Regions from separate parts of the Homo sapiens genome. Here regions 1, 3 and 4 are each linked to region 2. Evidence: promoter capture Hi-C in 16 types of primary human blood cells and fetal thymus (Javierre and others, 2016). All regions are on one chromosome and are shown on one strand. The core of a region is centred on a gene start or on the middle of the fragment in contact, and the rest is flanking DNA. Distances in the headings are between cores, read along the strand shown. Region 1 overlaps PLEKHG1 (pleckstrin homology and RhoGEF domain containing G1). Region 2 holds the start of PLEKHG1 (pleckstrin homology and RhoGEF domain containing G1). Region 3 has its middle 110 kb from the start of PLEKHG1. Region 4 overlaps PLEKHG1 (pleckstrin homology and RhoGEF domain containing G1).

Evidence for each region. Contacts are between HindIII fragments. The CHiCAGO score rates a contact against its expected background, and 5 or more counts as called.
Region 1: a contact is called between a fragment that was not itself captured here and the fragment with the promoter of PLEKHG1 in region 2, in 3 of 17 cell types (total B cells, naive B cells and fetal thymus). The highest score is 16.4, in total B cells.
Region 3: a fragment that was not itself captured here is called in contact with the fragment with the promoter of PLEKHG1 in region 2 in 1 of 17 cell types (endothelial precursors); the score reaches 9.4 in endothelial precursors.
Region 4: a contact is called between a fragment that was not itself captured here and the fragment with the promoter of PLEKHG1 in region 2, in 1 of 17 cell types (total B cells). The highest score is 5.1, in total B cells.

Annotation. Positions count from the first base shown.
Region 1 is chr6:150,702,121-150,705,029 of GRCh38, forward strand. The region is part of intron 2 of PLEKHG1 (pleckstrin homology and RhoGEF domain containing G1); the gene reads left to right. Among named protein-coding and RNA genes, the nearest start is that of PLEKHG1, 100 kb to the left of the region's middle. The HindIII fragment of the contact is 3,822 bases long and covers 1-2,909 here.
Region 2 is chr6:150,598,478-150,601,189 of GRCh38, forward strand. PLEKHG1 (pleckstrin homology and RhoGEF domain containing G1) reads left to right here and starts at 1,408. Exons shown (of 17, transcript NM_001029884.3): 1 at 1,408-1,540. RefSeq lists silencers at 896-955, 1,136-1,430, 1,226-1,705, 1,916-2,085. The HindIII fragment of the contact is 1,307 bases long and covers 989-2,295 here.
Region 3 is chr6:150,492,965-150,495,664 of GRCh38, forward strand. No RefSeq gene overlaps it. Among named protein-coding and RNA genes, the nearest start is that of PLEKHG1, 110 kb to the right of the region's middle. The HindIII fragment of the contact is 2,096 bases long and covers 326-2,421 here.
Region 4 is chr6:150,666,728-150,669,427 of GRCh38, forward strand. The region is part of intron 2 of PLEKHG1 (pleckstrin homology and RhoGEF domain containing G1); the gene reads left to right. Among named protein-coding and RNA genes, the nearest start is that of PLEKHG1, 68 kb to the left of the region's middle. The HindIII fragment of the contact is 221 bases long and covers 1,162-1,382 here.

The DNA of each region.
Region 1 (2,909 bases), core at 358-2,857, 100 kb after region 2:
GACATGAACATCTTTTGCCACTTCAGAAATACAACTGGACAACAGAGTGGTTGTTAAAGTTATGTTGTAGGCTGGGCGCAGTGGCTCATGCCTATAATCCCAGCACTTTGGGAGGCTGAGGCAGGCGGATCACGAGGTCAGGAGTTCAAGACCAGCCTGCCCAGCATGGTGAAACCCTGTCTCTACTAAAAATACAAAAATCAGCTGGGTGTGGTAGCACATGCCTGTAATCCCAGCTACTCAGGAGGCTGAGGCAGGAGAATCGCTTGAACCCCAGAGGCAGAGGTTGCAGAGAGCCAAGATCATGCCATTGCACTCCAGCCAGGGTGACAGAGCAAGACTCCGTCTCAAAAAAAAAAAGTTCTGATGTATGGATCACGTTATAAAGGGCATTGGGAACCTCTCACCATCAGCAGTACTTCTCATTTTGTTTTGGGGTGTGTGTGTGTGTGTGTGTGTGTGTGTGTGTGTACTTATATATATGTCATCCAGTACCCAAATTGTACCCTTCTAACAGTTATTTAAATCACCTAGTGTAATCCCTTAACATGTAGTTATATTTTATTTTGTCATAAATAAAAAACATAAGCAAAAGCTGTTGGGGAAATAATAACCCCGAAGATAACCACCAATAACAAACAGACTTTCTAAATCTATCTAGAACCTGGCAGTCTCCATAATGGGTCAACTTCCGACTTGTTCCTTGTTGCCTCAGGGCTGTTCTGAACCCTGAAGTTCCCCCACTCTGTAGCTGATGACCTGCTGCGTTCATTCCTTACGAGGAAGCAGCCACTTCCTCCCGTGGGCTAGCAGCCTCGCACTTCTGCATCTTTAGTGGCATAGCTGAGTGGTACCAATGCTTCTCATTTTATTCCTACAAAACAAAAAACCTCAGCAAGGCCTGTGTTTTCATCTCCATCATTCTCCCTTTATCTGCCTAGGCCTTTAGATGAAAAAATGGCCAAGGTACTTGGAGAGATACAAGCTGTCAGGGAGGCAGGGGAGTCAGACCCAGGTTTTAGCCTCATAATAAAGAAAATCATGAAATCCCTTCCCACTTCTCTCCTTCCTAACTCCTTCTTGTAAGTTTATCAAAATGAAAGCAGATGAGGATGTACAGATTGCCCATCAAGGGTTCTTAGATTCTGACTTGCTTAATACTTAAAATATAATTTTATTCAGTCCGTTAGAAAAGCTCTTGTCTGGCTGGGCATGGTGGCCTGTAATCCCAGCACTTTGGGAGACTGAGGCAGGCAGATCGCTTGAGCTCAGGAGTTAAAGACCAGCCTGGCCAACATGGTGAAACCCCATCTCTACTAAAAATACAAAAATTAGCCAGGCGTGGTGGCACATGCCTGTAATCCTAGCTACTCGTGAGGCTGAGGCAGGAGAATCGCTTGAATCCAGGAAGTGGAGGTTACAGTGAGCCAAGATTGCGCCACTGCACTCTTGCCTGGGCGACAGAGCAAGACTCCATCTTAAAAAAAAAAAAAACAAAACAACTTTTTTCTACTTGAAGAGCTACTTCCTACAGTATTAAAAAAAATCAGTCTAGAATATATTCTGCTTTTCTGTTAAATTGTACCTTAATTTGGAAGCATGGAACATTCTTGTGTCACAGCAGTGTCTCTCTACCCTGGCAATACATATGAATCACAGGAAAAAATACTCTGGTCTTGCCCTCCAGTGAATATGCTGTTTTAAAATAGTGTTTGATTGCTGTTTAGCACCTTGATTTTTGAAAACTTGCAGAATTTCATGTGGCATTTTTACATAGTTGAACGTACTTGGTGACTTTGAATTTGTTTATATATTATTATCCCTGACAATGGAACTAATTTTAAGTCTTTTCAGTTTGACATAGTAGAGCCTTTCACTCTGGTGAAGATCAGGACTTACAAAAAGATTCAAAGTGCAACAATTGCAAATAACAACTTTATCGGTGCTGAGTTTCGGAGTTGAAAGTATCCTCAATGGTTGATGGTCCGACTGACCTGTTAGCATGTTGAGAATGAATCTTAGTTGGTTCTTTGGAGTGAGGGGGGCGATGTTTGCTGGTGCTGTCCTCTGAGGGCAGGGAATAGTCAGCATAAACGCACTCTTCATTAACCTTGGGCTTCAGACATAAACCTTCCTCTGGTCTTCTTCCCATGGAGTTTGGCAGCATTTCACACAGGTCTCAAGGGCCCCTCTTGTCCCTTCTGAACAAGCCCCCTCTGAACTCAGAGACAAAAGGGGCTTTTCCTATAACACACCTCACCCTGGACCCCAGCATGATTCCTGCCTAGTTCTATTCACAATCCTTTATTTCTCCTTTGGAGAGTCTAATCCTTGAAGTCTGTCATCCTTGACCCCATCAAAGCGTTTTTCATTGGGATGATGGACTAGGGGAAGGCTGAGGCAGGTGGAGTAAGGGGCTGCAGGCAGCCTTGAGCTCTCCGTGGAGCACTGGTTCTCAACCTTACATCACCCAAAGAGTTCAGGTACCTTTGCCCATTCCTGGGCCCTGTCCCTGAAAATTCTGATGTTGTGCTCTTGGGCAGGGCCCAGCAATCTGGTTGCTTGTTGAAAATCTTGCTGATGATGATTGTTAGCCAGCTTGGACTGCCATAACAATAACACAGACTGGTGGCTTAAATGACAGACATTTATTTTCTCATAGTCCTGGTGGTTGTAAGTCCAAGATCAAGGTGCTAGTGGGGTTGGTGTCCAGTGAGGCCTTTCTTCCTGGCTTACAGACGGCTGCCTTCTGGCTGTATTCTCACATAGGCTTTTGCATAGAGAGAGAGCAAGATCTCTCGTATTTCCTTCTCTTCCTATAGGGACACCAGTCCTGTTGGACTAGAGCCCCACCCTTATGACCTCATTTAATTCCACCTCCTTAAAGGGCTCGTCTCCAAATACAGTCA
Region 2 (2,712 bases), core at 158-2,657:
AACACAAATCACAACATAGAGAGATGGGGTAACAGGCATGATTTTGTGTGAGCTCCAGAAGCTGGGCAGGGTCTTAATTAAGCTCAGTTTCCTGTCTGTGAAAGGCGACTAGCACCTGTCCTGTCAACCTCACAAGGTTATCGCAAGGCCAACTGAAACAATGCTTTGAAGATGGCAAATGTCTGTTTTAGTCCCATTGCAAATCTACCGTGGTAAATGTATTCCAAGCATAACCCAGTCCCATAGTTTTAGGTAATACAAGTCAGTTGTGGAGACTCAAATTATAAAACAGAACATAAACTCCACGTGGTAGAGAACTGTGATGCTGTGTAGCCTTACTGCACAAACCTTGTTTTGTTCCCAGTCTTTATGATAATTTCCATAATCATGTATATGCATAAAAGCAGATAAAAGGCAAAAATCAACAAGAATAGCTAACATTTATTCAGGCTGTAGAGCATGTGCCAGACAGTCTCCTAAGCCCTTCACGCACATTCTCTTATTTAAATCACATACAGCAACTCTATGAGGTAGGCACTATCATCATCATCATCATCATCATCTCCATTTTACAGATGAGGAAACAGACAGAACACAGAGAGGTTAAAGCGTTCTCTCAAGGCCACACAGCTAGCAAGTGGTAAGGCTGAAGGTCTGTTAACAACTAAGAGTGCAATCAAATCCACCACCAAACCTAAGGGGGTCCACAGGCGACCCTGATACGTCCGACTTTGGCGGGAGATTAGTGTTAAGAAATGACTTCACATGCCTTTAACTGTCGCTGCAGGCACCTTTGATTGGAGTCATAACTTTACTGCAGAGCCGGTGCCTTTAAACATCTCTCTGGCTGTCACCGGTTATTCTTTACCTCCGTTTCCACTTTTACTTTCTCTAGGCAAAGGTCGTTTGGTGCTTTAACCGAGGTGATTAGGGTAATGACGCCTGAAGAACACCGGGCTTCCCCCTCTTTTCACTTGATTACCGGCAAAGCTTCTATGTAAAACTAGAATGTTCACTAAAACCATGATTTTGGGTATTATTTTAAAGGACTCACATAGGAAATTATTACGTCCAAAGGAAAGCTAAACCTGAAGAGCTAGGAAAATGAAAAAAAGTGATGTGTCTGCGAAAACAGTAGCAGAATTAAAAAAAAAAAAAACTTTATTCCCCCCGAAGCTGTAATTTGACTGTTCTCTTTGGCAAGGCTCCAGAGACAAGGCCAAGTGCCTAATTTCTCTTTCTCTTCGCCCCCCTCCTCTCCACCTTTTTCACCCTCAGGGCAGAGGGGAGGCGGGACGAGCGATCCACTGCTCCGGCCGCCGAAGCTGGCGTCTGGGCGCGGGGAGGGGCGGGCCGGGGCGCGGCCGAGCAGTGGGGCCGAGCCCGAGGAAGAGGAAGTCGGAGCCCGAGCCTGAGCCCGAGCCCGAGCCCGACGGCGGCTGCAGGGCGCTCCGGCAGCCCGAGCCGGCGCAGCGCAGCCCGCACCCTCCCCGCCCGACCTGCGAGCGCCGCCCGGGCATGCGAAGCCGTCCCTCCCCGGGTAAGCGCCGGTCGGGCCCGGACGCCCTGGGGACTTTTCCAGGGATGGGAGGGGGGACCCGGGGACCTCCGGCGGGAGCCCCACATCCGCAGGTGGGGCCGGGCGGAGCGTGGTACCCGGGCCCCGCCGGCCCCCTGCGCGCCCCTCCGCAGTGGGGACGGAGGGCCTTGGGGGGCGCCGAGCGGTGGGGACAGAGGGCGCCGGGGGCACCGCGCGGTGGGGACGGAGGGCGCTGGGGGGCGCCGCGTCTCGGGGGTCGGAGTCGGGTCGGGGATGCTGCCCGCCGCCGCCCCGCTTGGGGTTCCGCGCCCCCAAGTTCCCGGTGCTCCCGCCCCTCGCCCCAGCGGCTGCAACATCAGCGCGCAGAGGAGTTTCTGCGAGCACCCGGGAGTTGTAGCCACCGCTTCCCCACCCCCGACTCAGCAGGACAGCCCCAGAACGGGACCCCACAGCCAGTCAGCTGGGTCAGCTCCCCAGCAGCGAAGCCGGGAGCCCGAGGACCCGGGGACGCGCGGTGGGGGCGGCGGCCGAGCTGCTGCGGCGCTCAGGGCTTGGGGGCGCCCCCGTTCTGCAGATGCGCTTTTCAGGGGGTGGGGAGTCAAGAGCCTGTGGCTCTTCCGTCACGGGGTAAACGGTAACACCTGGGCGGCCGCGACTCTGCGAGCGTTCTGGCCTCGGCGGGCGGCGGGGAACCGCAGTGATGCCCGAGCTCGCCCCTTTTGTGTCCTCGCGGTGAGCCCCGTTCCGAAGCCGGAAGCTTGGGAACGCTCTAACTGGGAGAACGGCGCTCGGCTGGTCAATTCATTCCGCTCCTCGGAAACAATGAGCTGGATCCTTGACTTGAATGTGCTGGCGGAGCGGGGTTTGTAAGCCGGCGTTTCATCCAGCTCTGGTCCTCAAGGCGCCCTTTGTACCACCCGCAGGTGGCCGAGGCTACTGCACGTATTTTCGAAATCACCGAGTGTGGGTGTTTGGGGCAGGTATCACCCCGCGAGGACCATCTCAGACTGAGAGTTGGTTTAGGAGTTTTGAACAGATTGGATACAGAACTATATTGTGTTTTGTATTTAGACCGGGGGAAAGACTAGAATGTTAACTCTAGGGTCCAGTTTGTCATCTAACAGAATTCCGGGCTTGGGTAGGTCCTGTAATGCGGTACAATAACAACCAGG
Region 3 (2,700 bases), core at 124-2,623, 110 kb before region 2:
AAATTTACCTTCCTCCTCTGTGAAATGAGAAGACTGGACTGGCGCCCTTCTAAGGATGTCTGCTGGAGGTCAGGTCTCTGGCTCGGGACAGACACAGATGTGAGAGAATCGCACCACTCTTGCTGGACTGGCACACCAGGCCCACATAGTGACTCAGCCATGCAGCCCTCGGCCCCACAGGTTTCTTGGCTCACTTCCCTGACTCTCCTTTACTCCCTTTGTCTAATAACGTGTCTGAAAGTAAACCAGTTTCCTGGGGAACATTGTTTTCCCATTATAAATTCCTTTACAGCAAGCACCAAGTGACTGGCTGTGCACTGGTTAAAGCTTAAGGGTATTTCCTGAAGGCTATATTCGGCCTGAGCAGATTTTTGTGTTTTTAATTGTTATTTTCCTAAGAGAAAAGGTCAATGGCTATATTGTTTAGAAAATAGATTCAAACTGGATACATAAATTTCAGTGGGAACGAGAAGGGTCCCAGGAAAGAGGAGTCCCTGACCATGAGCTGGGCATGTTAGGTCCACCGATTCATAAGGTCTCAGACCAGTTGCAATAGATGGTGCTATGGAAAGGCTTCATTTGGGATCAGGTTGGAGAAGGTGTGTGTGTAGAGGGGAGAGGGAATCTCCTCAAGTAAGCTACATGAGAAGGTGCCTAATACGGTATGGTTCTGTGTCCCCACCCAAATCTCATCTTGTAGCTCCCATAATTCCCATGTGTTGTGGGAGGGACCCAGTAGAAGATGATTCAATCATCTTCTTTCCCCTACTGTTCCCATGACAGTGAATGGGTCTCACGAGATCTGATGGTTTTAAAAATGGGAGATCCCCTGCACAAGCTCTCTTTTCACCTGCCACCATCCATGTAAGATGTGACTTGCTCCTCCTTGCCTTCCACCATGATTGTGAGGCCTCCCCAACCATGTAGAACTGTAAGTCCAATAAACCACTTTCTTTTGTAAATTGCCCAGTCTTGGGTATGTCTCTATCAGAAGCATGAAAACAGACTAATACAGTGCCTCAGAACTCCACGTGGCTGATCTCTGAGCTACTGTAGCCTCTGCCTCTCCTCATACCTATGGCCTCCTGGGTGTTCCCTATAACCTGTTAGGTGAGAGGACAGATAATTTAAAATGGACTTGAGGAGCAAAATGCCACATATCAAGTCTTGTTTTTAAGAAATTGTTACCAGCTGATGAAAATACACATGGAGTATCCACAATGCCTTTGGAACTGAACTGCTGTACTTATTCTTCCAGATTATTTCAGACAGTGAGGATGTTCTTTCTGAAATGTTCTTGTCTATTTCCAATGAGTAAAAATAGAAGAGGGGAGAAAAAGCCAGGGCCTGAGCCAGCTTGTGGGCCTTTCTAGGTCACTATTTTATTGGTAATCATTTTTTCATAACTGTGTATTTATTCCCTATGGGTGTGTCCTGGATTCCATGGCAAATATCCTTTGATGACCACAGCAGTGTCTTCCGATGAAGGTCCAGGGCTGCATCCCAAACACCCCCACCGACAGCTCAGCCAACAGGACGGATCACGACTGAAACAGATGTTCTTGCTCCCCCGGCCAAAAAGTTGGAGTCCCTCCCTGGAGATGAGACACTTCCCTTTGACACCAGAAGCACCTTCCTGATTTCATCAGATGAGATACTTGTTTGGGGAATGACCCCAATGTCTTGCCTTAAGCAAACAAATAAAATGTTTGAATTTAGTGAGGGCATGAACCCGATATGTAAAATGTAGAGTTAGGAAAATTATATTGTATAGAAAATAGCACATTATTTCCCTGGTGAGCCAGCAACCTCCCAAAATAATTGTGTAAAACAGAGGATAAAAAGAGCTCAGCAAGAAACCCTTATGTCCTCGAGAAGGCAACCAAATTGGAGAATGAGGTTTAGTATACGGTATTTCTCAACAAGAACTGTAAAACTGAATTAAAACCTGAAAGCAATGATAAAACTCTTACTAAAATATGTAGTCCATGCATTTCTTCTGTGTGATTCTTCCGTGCGATTCTTTAGAACTGAACTGAACACCTTTGGAACTGAAAGACTCTACTTACTCTTCCAGGTTATTTCAGACAATGAGGATGTTCTTTCAAAATTAACGTGCTTCTCAAAACTTAACAGGCACATGAGTCGCCTGGAGATCTTGTTAAAATGTAGGTTCTAATTCAGCAGGTCCTAGGTAAGGCCCCAGATTCTGCATGTCTAATAGGCTCCAAGGTTTACACTATTCTTAAAGCAGTGCAGTCATTTCCAAGTGCAGTCATTGGATCACTTGTATGAGAATCTCCTAAGTGATCTGTTGAAAAACACAGATTCCTGTGCTCCACCACAGACTTACAAAATCCAGTGTTTACAGTGATTGCCCAGGAATCTGTATTTAACACGCTTACCAATGATTCTTATTAAAGCTTGAGAACTGACACTGTCTATGGATAAATGGCTAATTTGGGATAACTAGGAAACTTGTAGGAGATGCCATGAGATTGTTGCACACCATGAAGAAGGTTTGGGCTGTGCTAAGTGGGTTCTTGTACTTTTACAGTAAGGAAAACTGCTAAGCAGTTAAGTGGCTGGGGCATAAATAGCAGGCGCTACCAAGTCAGGCAGTCCAGGTGACAGGGAAGGAGCTTACAGGAGCATTAATGATGATAGGATACTGTACTAATTTCTGTTGCTAAAAGAAAC
Region 4 (2,700 bases), core at 22-2,521, 68 kb after region 2:
TCATACAGTTGCCATCATACCAGCTGCATTGATAATTTTTTTTTTTTTTTTGAGATGGAGTCTCACTCTGTCGCCCAGGCTGGAGTGCAGTGGCGCAATCTCGGCTCACTGCAATCTCCGCCTCCCGGGTTCACACCATTCTCCTGCCTCAGCCTCCCAAGTAGCTGGGACTACAGGTGCCCACCACCACACCCGGCTAATTTTTTTATATTTTAGTATATGGAGTTTCACCGCGTTAGCCAGGATGGTCTCGATCTCCTGACCTCGTGATCCACCCAACTCGGCCTCCCAAAGTGCTGGGATTACAGGCGTGAGCCACTGCGCCCAGCCTGATAAGATTTTTAAATTTTCTCCAAAAGGGGGTGTGTGTGTGTTTGTGTGTGTGTGTACAATGCTTAGGGATGCCAAGCTATTTAAATCATATAGCATGAAAACTGGGCCTGTCTAAACATATATTAGGGTTGGGTCTGCATCACCTTTAGTTAGCTAACTACTAATATTTCAAGTTTTTAGCATCCCTAAAATGTTTGCTCACCAGTCTTTTTAAATATTATATTGCTGCGGACATAATTTTTTTAAAAAGAGTTTCTACATATGATTTTGTGAATACTTAGCCTTTGACTAAGGATTGACTCTGAAAAGGCTGTTTCTATTATCTGTTCAGCCAAGTCTTGTGTTTTCAACATATATGTACTAAACAGCATTATGTTGTCTTAATATGACACTAAAATGGGGTTCAAGGCAGAACATACTTCTGTTTGTTACAATTTAGGATCATAAGGTATCTTGGAAAATAGTAGTCTGAAGTACAGAATCCAAGGACAGCCTCCTGTGGTTTATTACTTTTATTTATAGCAGTCTACTTTTTCCTATTTGCAACAGATTTGGCTAAACAATGTTTTATTAATTCAAGCAGGAATATTTTCCTGCATTGAATTTGCATTAAAATTGCCTAGGAAATAATATTACCCGGTTTTCCTCACACACCCTCTATGCTGCTAGAGAACTTTTAGAAAAGCTGAATTCAGAAGTCTGCAAATAAATGAAACTGTGAAAAGTAGAGGTGACTCTCCTTTAGAACTACAAGGGATAGTGAATCCATCAGCAGTCACAAGTAAAAATACTGTCTTCTTGTGGTAGAGTGCTACTTATTCCTTTAAAAGCTTTTCCAGCCCATCAGCAGGTATTAAAATGTTCAAGGCCTCTTGTCTTTTTGTAAGATGTGTGTATAAAAAAGAATTCAGAGCAGAAGGTTTGAAGATTATCTTGTATACAAGGGCGGCTAAAATACGTGCAATAGGTCTTTCCAGGAATATGAAAGTGAAGATTGATGCCGAAAGTCTCATTGCTGTTTTTCTAAACTGGTTGCTGTTGGCTGTGAAAGCTTTCTTTGAATTAGTGAAGGTTTCATGTGCCCACACATAGCCTGAAGTGAGAAACTCACTGTTGCTTGTGCTTGCCAAAAGCAGACATAAAGCATTGGCTGCCCTACCTGTAACTTCTGCTAAAAACAGAACACAAAATTATCATGGGAGCCTTCAACAGCTAGAACACCATCTAAACAAAGTAAAAAGTGATTGGATTCTTTATGGCTCCCTCAAAGATTTTTCAACTCCCTGTAGTCCAGTTCCAAAAAAAGGAATGATGGTTTTCTTGGAGAGCCAACAGTTCCCTTTGTAAGTTTCTGGAATTTTTGTACATGATATTTTGAGTTCTTCTACAATAAAATTTAATGGTCCATTTGAGAAAGTGTACTCATATTAAATGTAGTGTCTATTATTGGGTAGTCTGAGACAATTCCTGAGTGCTCAACTCTCCTTTGATCTGTCGAAACATAGTGGTTGCCATGGAGTCTTGCTGGCCGATGACCAAGTAGGAGTTCCACATTCCACTCAGCTGGGCGCAGTGTTCCTAATCAGGCCGGACCTGAAACTCTAGCACAAAGGACTTTAAAACCGGAATGCTTTATGTGTAATCACTGAAAATAAGTTGATTATTTGTAGGGCAGAGTATGGTAAAGGTTAAAAATTTCATGTTTCACTTATTTAAATTTTGATTTGTTTCTGGAAAAATATTTTAGTCTTCTGATGATATGAAATGTAAAATTCTCTCTAGTCCCCCTGCTTTGTACAAAGTAATACAAAACAAGATTTGTCTTATTTGACCTTAAATATAAATAAAATGGCAGCTGAATTATTGTGAGCAATGTAGCTCAAGTATCTGGCCGTCATCTTTGCATTTTATTGCAGTGATGACTCCATGCCATTGTTAATCTGGATTTATTTTTAAACAGTTTAACTAGGGCCTTTTTTTGCAGGCTTTTCTTTGTTTCTCCCCTACTTAGTTCTGAGGAAAGCCTAAAATAAGATCCCTGTAAACACTGATGTTCATTTTTTAACTCAAACATTTGCACAGCCCCACTGTGGGTTCAGGAAAGACAAAAGGAGGCTCCTGACTTAGATCTAGCCCTCAAATAGAGAGGGGAGAAAGCCTTGAAGACACATCACTGTAGATAGCTGGGATGTGTTTTTGCTGTACAGAATGAGTAGGAGTGAGGAGAAAAGATGACTTTTGCCTGGATAGATGGGGGGTTGAAGAGGCTTCTGAGATGGTTTTTGATTGCCTACCGAGGTCATTCTCTGACCTAGTTTGATGTCTAACTCCCTTATAATTGCATCAGCTTGAACCCATAAGGCTTCA